2 separate regions of the Homo sapiens genome follow, and region 1 is linked to region 2. Evidence: promoter capture Hi-C in 16 types of primary human blood cells and fetal thymus (Javierre and others, 2016). All regions are on one chromosome and are shown on one strand. The core of a region is centred on a gene start or on the middle of the fragment in contact, and the rest is flanking DNA. Distances in the headings are between cores, read along the strand shown. Region 1 has its middle 50 kb from the start of THAP12. Region 2 holds the start of MOGAT2 (monoacylglycerol O-acyltransferase 2).

The links. The method cuts DNA at HindIII sites, captures the fragments that hold promoters and counts their contacts. A CHiCAGO score of 5 or more calls a contact.
Region 1: a contact is called between a fragment that was not itself captured here and the fragment with the promoter of MOGAT2 in region 2, in 3 of 17 cell types (endothelial precursors, naive B cells and total B cells). The highest score is 8.2, in endothelial precursors.

What each region holds. Positions count from the first base shown.
Region 1 is chr11:76,329,285-76,333,858 of GRCh38, reverse strand. No RefSeq gene overlaps it. Among named protein-coding and RNA genes, the nearest start is that of THAP12, 50 kb to the left of the region's middle. The HindIII fragment of the contact is 2,592 bases long and covers 1,931-4,522 here.
Region 2 is chr11:75,715,097-75,719,766 of GRCh38, reverse strand. MOGAT2 (monoacylglycerol O-acyltransferase 2) reads right to left here and starts at 1,929. Exons shown (of 6, transcript NM_025098.4): 1 at 1,788-1,929. The coding sequence starts at 1,878. It overlaps LOC105369392 (a long non-coding RNA gene), which reads left to right and starts at 1,482. Exons shown (of 3, transcript XR_950316.4): 1 at 1,482-1,561. The HindIII fragment of the contact is 5,505 bases long and covers 1-4,537 here.

The DNA of each region.
Region 1 (4,574 bases), core at 1,977-4,476, 610 kb before region 2:
CCAAAGTGCTGGGATTACAGGTGTGAGCCACCGTGCCCAGCTGATTGACTGTTTTTTGAAAAAGCTACCATGGGCTTATGGTATTAATATATTCCAAACAGTGCACTAGGGTGCACTTTGAAGCGTTTTCCTCCCACCCTTGGCTCCTTCAGTCTCCAGTTTCCTTCTCCAAAGGTGGTCATTTGTCTCCCTTCTGTATCCTCCCAAGTTCCAGGCTACACAAGGATGTATGGGTGTGTTTTCTTTTCAAAATGCAGGTGGAGGCAGCTGATAAACACATCTCTACTGCAGGTATTTTAAGGGCTTAGGTGCAAGGCAGTGTTCAGCAATGGTGTCATGGGGACACCTCCTTTGGCTGGACCTGAGGAATGAGGAGGAACTATCCAGGGGTCCTAAGGATATATCATAGTGCATTTAGCCATTCTTCCAGTGAGGGGCATTGAGATAGTTTCTAGTCTTCTGTTAATCTAAACCAGGGTTGGCAATCTATGGATTCCTGACCAGATCCAGCTCAGCTCTTGTTTTTTATGTACCTTAAGCTATGAATTTTTTATGTTTATAAATGGGTTTTTTTGTTTGTTTGTTTATTTGTTTGAGACAATTTGGCTCTGTTGCCCAGGCTGGAATACGGTGGCACAATCTCAGCTCACTGCAACCTCCACTTCCCAGGTTCAAGTGATTATCATGCCTCAGCCTCCCGAGTAGCTGGGACTACAGGCATGTGCCACCAAACCCAGTTAAGTTTTGTATTTTTGGTATAGACGGGGTTCCACCATGTTGGCCAGGCTGGTCTCAAACTGCTGGCCTCAAGTGATCCTCCTGCCTCAGCATCCCAAAGTGCTGGGATTATAGGCATGAGCCACCACAAGCAGCCTGTAAATGATTTTGAAAAAATAATATTTTGTGACACATGAAAAGTATACAAAATTTAAGTTTCAACATTTGTAAATAAGATTTTATTGGAACACAGGCATACCCATCCGTTTACGTTTGTTTATGACTGCGTTTGAGCTGCAGCAGCATTGTGGATTAGCTACAATGAGACCATATAGTCTGGGTATGGTGGCTCAACGCCTGTAATTCCAGCACTTTGGGAGGCTGAGGCAGGTAGATCACTTGAGCCCAGGAGTTCAAGAGACTGTATAGTCCTCAAGCCTAAAATAGTTACTGTCTATCCTTTACAGAAAAAGGTTGCTGACCTCTGCTTTAAACAATGCTGCAACAAATATCTTTCCCCATTACTGCAAACATGTAAGTAGATCTCTCATAAATAGCCCATTTGGTCTAAGCCAATCTGAGAGACATAGCTCAAAAAGCACATTTCACCGATTTTAGTTAATTTTTCTTTTATTATAAGTGAAGTTAACTAAGCATCTTTTTAAACACATAAAAGTGTTGGGCCATGTGTGGTGGCTCACACTTGTAATCCCAGCAATTTAGGAGGCTGAGACAGGAGGATAATTTGAGCCCAGGAGTTCAAGACCAGCTGGGTAACATGGTGAGACTGCTATCTCTACTAAAACTACTACCCAGGCGGGGTGTGGTGGCTCACGCCTGTAATCCCAGCATTCTGGGAGGCGGAGGCAGGAGGATCACTTGAGGTCAGGAGTTCAAGACCAGCCTGGCCAACATGGCAAAACTCCGTCCCTACTAAAAATACAAAAATTAGCCAGATGTAGTGGCGGGCACCTGTAATCCCAGCAACTCAGGAGGCTGAGGCAGGAGAATCGCTTGAACCCAGGAGGTGGAGGTTTCAGTGAGCCGAGATTGTGTCACTGCACTCTAGCCTGAGTGACAAGAGCGAAACTCCATCTCAAAAATAAAATAAAATAAAATAAAATAACTACCCGGTGTGGTAGCACATGCCTGTAGTCCCAGCTACTAGGGAGGCTGAGGCAGGAGGATTGCTTGAATCTGGAAAGTCAAAGCTTCAATTAGTCATGATTGTTCCACTGCACTCCAGCCTGGGTGACAAAGTGAGACCCTGTCTCAAAAAAAAAATTATATACATATATTTATATGTGTGTGTATATATATATATCATGTGTGTGTTTCCTCTTTTCTGTAAAATGTTTTTTTCAATTTGATAAAGAATATGGGCCAGGTGTGGCGGCTCACGCCTGTAAACCCAGCACTTTGGGAGGCCACGGTGGGTGGATCACTTGAGCCCAGAAGTTCGAGATAAGCCTGGGCAACATAGCGAGATCCTATCTCTACAAAAAGTTTAAAAATTAGCCAGGCATGGCTGGGTGCGGTGGCTCACACCTGTAATCTCAGCACTTTGGGAGGCTGAGGTGGGTGGATCACAAGGCCAGGAGATCGAGACCATCCTGGCTAACACGGTGAAACCCCGTCTCTGCTAAAAATACAAAAAATTAGCGGGGCATGGTGGCGGGAGCCTGTAGTCCCAGCTACTTGGGAGGCTGAGGCAGGAGAATGGTGTGAACCCAGGAGGCGGAGCTTGCAGTGAGCCGAGATCGCAACACTGCACTCCAGCCTGGGCGACAGACTCTGTCTCAAAAAAAAAAAAAAAAAAAAATTAGCCAGGTGTGGTGGTGCGTGCCTGTAGTCCTGGCTACTCAGGAGGCTGAGGTGGGAGGATCACCTGAGCCTGGAAGGTTGAAGCTGCAATGAACTGTGATCATGCCACTGCACTCCAGCCTGAGCAACAGAGTGAGACCCTGTCTCCAAAAAAAACAAAAAATATGAGCAAAAGTATTTTTCTTATTGCTTTACAAAAACAAGGGGGAATTAGCATTTTGTGTCTTGCATCCAAATGTTTTCTCCATTTGTTACTTGACTGACTTTTTTTTTTTTTTTTTTTCATGTAATAATGCTCACCTTGTCAGTGAAGGGAAGGTGGGTCCAGGTGCTGACAGTGAAGGGGATGGGGGACCTTGGCCAGGCAGACAATACTTGTTTCTGGATCCCCTACCTTGTTCCCAGCCCTGTCCCAGGCACTGGGGTCCAGCGGTGAGTGAGGCGGGCGGAGGCTCTGCCATCATGGCAGTGATGGGTAAGCAGGGCAGTACTAAGCGCAGGTGTTACAGGGACACCTCCCCAGCTGGACCTGAAGAATGAAGAGGGACTACCCAGGGGTCCGGGCTGCAGCGGGAGGATTCTGAGCAATAACTCGTACAAGGTTAGATCTTGGAGAGACAGAGGTTTCAGAGTGCAGGTTCTTGGAGCCTAAGCTCTACTGAGTGGTGATGAAGCACCTGGTATGGCCACACATGAAAGGCAAGGACAGGAGTCCCAGGAGTCTCGTCAAGTCTCTGAGGTGCACAGAAAGCTGCCCTGTGAGGGTCTAGAGAGTTTCACCTCTTTGTATGGAGGAGCAAAGTACCTCTCAGGGCTGCAGCTACCCTGCCAACAGACTTAAACTAGGGTCTGAGGGTTTAGAATTGGCCAGGGCGGAGGTGAAGCATTGCTCCGCACCAGGAACAGCAAAGGGCGTGAGGACAAGTCTGGCCTCTCTTGCAACGAAGACCTCTCCCTGCCCTTCCACAGCCCTAGCCTCCACTTCAGTTCTACCTCTCCAGAGTATCAAAGGGAGAGACAACTATGCCTGCAAAGACCAAGCGGCAGCCTGGGAGGGGAGGAGGGGGCTGGAGGGAGATGTGGCTAGAGGGTGAGACCAGCCCCTCAGGCCTTTAACATCAGGCTAAGCCAGCAGCCTACCAGCTGCTCCCCTGCCCAAAGCACCACCCCCAGAGCTCCCTGCAGGCGATGACAAGGATGAAGTGGGGAGGCAGGGGGAGAGTCAAGAGCTCACAAAGGTTCTGCTGTGCTTGACCAGGGCCTCCGCCAGAGCCAGATTGTTTGCTTGCTTGGAGGGAAGGATCTGATTTAAAAAGGTGGTGGCCCTGGGGTTCAGGGCCAGGCCTGCTGGCTGCCATCCTACACAGCAGCCCCACTCCAAACTCTCCATCCTGGGGCCCCCTCATTCCTCTTTACTTTGGTGTTCCCAGTTAGACCCAAGTAGGACTCCACAGCTTTGGGCAGAGGACTTACAAAGCAGCAGGGGCCAGTGCTCACACTTGGGACTCTAGATCACTGGGGGACCTGCAGGACCAGCCTGCTGGGGACTTCATGGAGAAGGAGGTGCGTGGAGGTGGCCCTTCACTGAGCACCTGCTGTATGCTGGGCATTGGGCAGGGCACTTCGTTTATGGGGTTCCCTTTTCATCCTTTAAGCAACAGTAGGTATTATTGTCTCCATTTTACAGACAAGAAAAGAGAGTCCTAGAAAGGCTAAGGGGACTCGCCCAGGTTTACACAGTGAGTCAGTGGTAGGGCTAGAATTCTAACTCAGGTTGGCCCCACCTGTGAATCTAATCTGTGCTTAACCCCTACACTGCTTTGTGCAGGACATAACCCTGTCTTGCACATGTCTGGCACAGAGTGAAGGTCCCATCATGTTGACTTTATCATGCACTTTCTCAGCTGGAGCTGTGGGCCTCACAGCAGCCCTTCGGGGTCAGTAATGCTTCTCTCGCTTTCATGATGTGGAGGCTCAAGCTTGCAGAAGTTGAGCAACTTGCCCAGGGTCACACAGCTAGTCGCAGAGGGTCA
Region 2 (4,670 bases), core at 680-3,179:
GTAGGCCTAACTCCAAAGCTCACTTTCTCCCACTGCACCAGGCCGCCTAATTCACTCCATCCCCTGCCTGTCCTCCTTCTCCCCAGGAGAGTTGTTTGTACTCATTAAGTGCTCAATCAATGGGGACAACTGGTTGGATAAACTGTTCTAGTTTCCATCTTTTGGGATCTCAGAGCAAAGGGAGACCCTTTCCTGCTCTCTTTCTGTTCATCCTCTGCCCCATTTTCCCAGAGATAAATCCAGCCAGGTGCCTCCCCTTATTCAAGCCCTTCATGACTTCCCCATAACTTTGGGCACAGTCCAAGTAGCTCAGCCTGGCCTCCAGGAGCCCCAGAGCTGGCCCTGTCCCTCCCGCTCCTGCCTCTTGTCTGTGGCCACTCTGAACTACACAGTGTTCCCAAACCTGCTGAGCTCTGATTCCTTTGCCTTCAGTGACCAGTGACGTTTGTTGTTGAAAGGAGGGAGGGAGGAAGAGGCCAGCCCCTGGCCGCCCCATAATCAGGGGTGCATCAGGGCTAAGACCAGGCCTAGTGTGGAATTCCCCTCTGACTGATGGTTTCTCAGCCCTTACTGGAGGCAAATCCTTGATTGTTTGGCTCATCTGTGCAAAGGGGGTATACAGGAATGTGTAAAATGTCTAAAAACCCTTAGAACAGAGACACAGCTCAACCAGAAGGGATGCTAGGGCAGGGTCCTGGAGGGCCTGCTTTGCCAAGGGGGAGTTTTTTCACTACAGAATTGTGGGGGAGTTTCTGAGGAAGTACGTGTGTGTGTGTGTGTGTGTGAGAGAGAGAGAGAGAAAGAGAGATGGCTACTGAGCAATGTGTTCAGAGTGTGTCAATATTTTAACAACCAGGAGAGTGGTATCTGTGTACAGGCTGAACCTCAGCCCTGGAAGCAGCAGTTCCTACCTTGTCTGGTGCCAGCAGATGAAAGGAAAAACCCCACGGACTCCTAGTCATTCTCCCTTCCCAAGCCACAGATCCAGACCCTCCTAGAAAATGTTACCTTTGGCAGAGCTATTGTTTGGGCAAGGGTGATCTCTCTGGCCACAAATCAGTGGTGGGGTGGGTAAGGGGCCATGCTCATGCCCTCCAGTGTGAGCCCAGCCCAGGGTCCAGGCCAGGTCTGTGCCAAGCAGAGGTCAGCACATTTCTTCATTTCCTTCACAATAGCCCTGCAAGGCCAGCATTGTTGTCCCCGTTCTGCAGATGGTGAAGTCGAGGCTTGGAGAGGTCAGGCATGGGCTGGCTAAAGTCAGTTGCCCAGCTGAGTCTGACTCCGGGTTTCCTGGTACCCAGCATGCCCACTCCACAGTCCACTCTCAGTCTGCACCTTCTCCCCACCCTTCTTTTCTTTCCCTGTTTCTCTCACTTACCCTACTACCAGCCCCAGTTTCCTCCTCCCTGAGCGCACAGAAGGAAATCTCTCCTCTCTGAGCAGGCTGCAGAGCCCAGAACTTTCCCGTCATCGCCCAGAGGCTTTCCCACACCACTTGGCAGCCTGCAGACTGGTCTTCATCCAAGTGCCAAAGGAGAACCCACAGTGCAAGCCAGGAAGAGTAAGTAACCTGCCCAGAGCAGCAGACGGTGACTTCTACCCCACTCCACCCCCAAGAAGCCTCTGGGCAGGCCCAGGAGTTCTCTCTGGGCAGGGGCTCTGAGCGCAACAAAGCCCCCTTTAGGATAAATGTCTTGCCACCATCAATGTGCTGTGTGCACCTGGTGTGGCTGCTCTGCCCCACCTGAGTGCGGTGGTCTCCCGTCTTACAGTGCAGCCCAACTTACCCAGTGCCAAGAAGGAGAAGACAAACTGTAGGACAGCAAGTGTCTGCAGCCTGCGCTCCCACGGCATAAACAAGGGCGCGAACTCTACCATGCTGGCGGGTCAGCCTGGCTCCCGCAGGTTCTGTGAGCTCTGCTGTGGTCTGAGGCACCCACAGGTTTTTGTTCCCTCCCCAGGTTGTAGAAGCTGGCAGGGAGAGTGCCACACCCAGCCCAGCCCAGCCCAGCCCCAAGGCCTCCTTGCCCCTGCTGAGGCAGGAAATTCTATCCTACAAGAAACCTTTGAATCTACCTGCTGGAGCCTGGCTAAGGAAGGAGGAAGAGAAGGGGTTGTATAGCCTTTATCAACTTTCTCAGGCAATGCCTTATCTGCATGGCTGCCTTTCCCCAATTGCTTAAATCTTGTCCTTCCTATAACTAGGCAGGTGAAGCCCCAAGCATATGCAATCTCACCCCCTTCCCACCTATTCAATGACCTGGCCCCAAGGTCAATGGATAGGATAACCTTGTCCTGTCCATTGTTCCCCCTCCACACATATGCTGTACTAACTCCCACCTAAAAATCCCCACCCACACTGTGTCCTCCACCTCCTGCCCCATTTTTCTGCTCACTCACACAGCAAACTCTCGGAAGAGCTATCTTTCATGCCTTCCTGTCCTCACCTCCCATCTGTGGTACCACAAATGGTGGTCCACACTTCAGGTATCACCCTTCCACAAAACTGCCCTTGGCAAGTTCCCTAGTGACCTCCATGATGTTAAATCCAGTAATCAATTCTCAGATCTCATCCTGACCTATTGGCAGCATTAGATATGGTTGATCATTCCCGTTTCTTTGAAACCACTTGGCCTTTGGACACTATGCTCTCCCAGTTTTCTTCCTAGCTCTCTGGCTGCTCCCTTTGTGCCTCTCGTCTTTCACCAGGCCAGCTGTTCGAGTCCCCCTCCTCCACTCCATCCTCGGGACTTCTCTTTTCTCTCCAGTTTCTGCTCTCTGAGATCTCATCCAGGCTCACACCTTGCATTGTATTTACACAGCAAAGACTTCCAAATCTGCATCTGCAGCTCTGCTCCCTGGGGCTCTAAACTTGAATCTCTAGGTGGCTCCTTGACATCTTCACTTGAATGCCTGATAGGCACCTCCATCGTAGCATGTCTAAAGGTGAACTTGATTCCCTCCCCCACCTCCCTTCTGCCCCACTGACTCCTCCTCTGCTCTTTCCCATCTCAGTAAAGGGTAATGCCATTTACCCAGTTGCTCAGGCCAAAACCTGAGTCACACTAGATCCCTTCTGTTCTTCTCCATCCACCTCTACCAGTCACCATGTCCTATCAGTTCTTCTAAGTCCCTCCTTTTAAATGTCAACTTCAAATTGACGTATACCATACATACGGAAAAATGCACAAATCCTAAGCGGACAGAGAAATGTCTTTTCACAAAGTGAAAGTTATCACCACTCTGATCGACAAACAGAACTTACCTAGCACCCCTTCTGGCCTTGCCAGTCACTGCTCTCCTCCCTGTAGCTCAGCACCATCCTCATCTCTGTTCTTGAACTTTATGAAAACTGAATCATTTAGTGTATACTCTTTTGAGACATCATATGTGCCTGTATTGCCTTTGTTTTCATTGCTGTATAGCATTCCATTGTGTGAATATGCCACAAAGTGTCCATTTGGACGCTGACAGGCATTTGGGCTGTCACCTGTTTCTGGCTATTATGAATATTGCTGCTACGAACATTCCTGTACATGTCTTTCAGTACACATCTATACACATTTCTGTTGGGTATGTGCCTGGAAATAGAATTGATGGGTCTCATGGTAGATAGCCATAGAGTTTTCCAAAGTGGTTGTACAAATCTACACTCCCATAGCCTTATATAAGAATTCCGAGTTCTGAATTTTGGTGGGTGTGTAGTGGTCCTTCATTGTGGTTATAGCATTTTCCTAACAACTAATAAATATAAGCACATTTTAATATGCTTACTGACCATTTGGATATCATTTTCTATGACCTTCTTGTTCTAGTGTTTTGTTGATTTCAGTCTCTTGAACTGAACAGCTGCTGTCTACCTCCACAGCCAGCCTCTTTTATAGACTGGCTCTGTCTTCCTTATTGGCCTCTCCGTTTACTTTCTATCCTCATTCTCCTCTCCACAATTTCAACACAGCAGGAGAAACTGCTGGGTTTATGAATATGTGAATGTTCAAGTTTGGGAGTAGAGCCAAACTGTTTTCCAAAATAATACATCAAGGTATAGTCTCCCCAAGAATCGAGAGACCCCACCCCCACCCCCATGGATCTGCTCTGACCCTTGGTATGGTCAGACTTCTTCTTGTCTTGCTAGGGTATGAAATGAGACCAAATTTTACTCTTGATTTTCATTTTCTTATCACTAATTTTTTTTTTTTGAAACCAAATCTCCCACTGTCGCCCGGGCTGGAGTGCACTGGCACCATCTCGGCTCACTGTAACCTCTGCCTCCCGGGTTCAAGCCATTCTCCTGCCTCAGCCTCCCAAGTAGCTGGGACTACAGGTGCCCACCACCATGCCTGGCTAATTTTTGTATTTTTAGTAGAGATGGGGTTTTACCATATTGGTCAGGCCGGTCTCAAACTCCTGACCTCAGGCGATTCGCCCGCCTTGGCCTCCCAAAGTGCTGGGATTACAGGCGTGAGCCACCGCGCCCGGCCTACACTAATGTTGAACATCTCTTTATTTATGGGCATTTCCTCTTCTGTGAAAAGCTTGGTCTTTATTTTTGCCCAATTCTCTGGAGTGTTGTTTGTGCTTTTCATAATCATTTGTACTTCGTTATGTACTCAGGATATTAACCCTTTGGTGTGGCATATATATTGTAAATCTCTTCTCCCAGTTTCTAG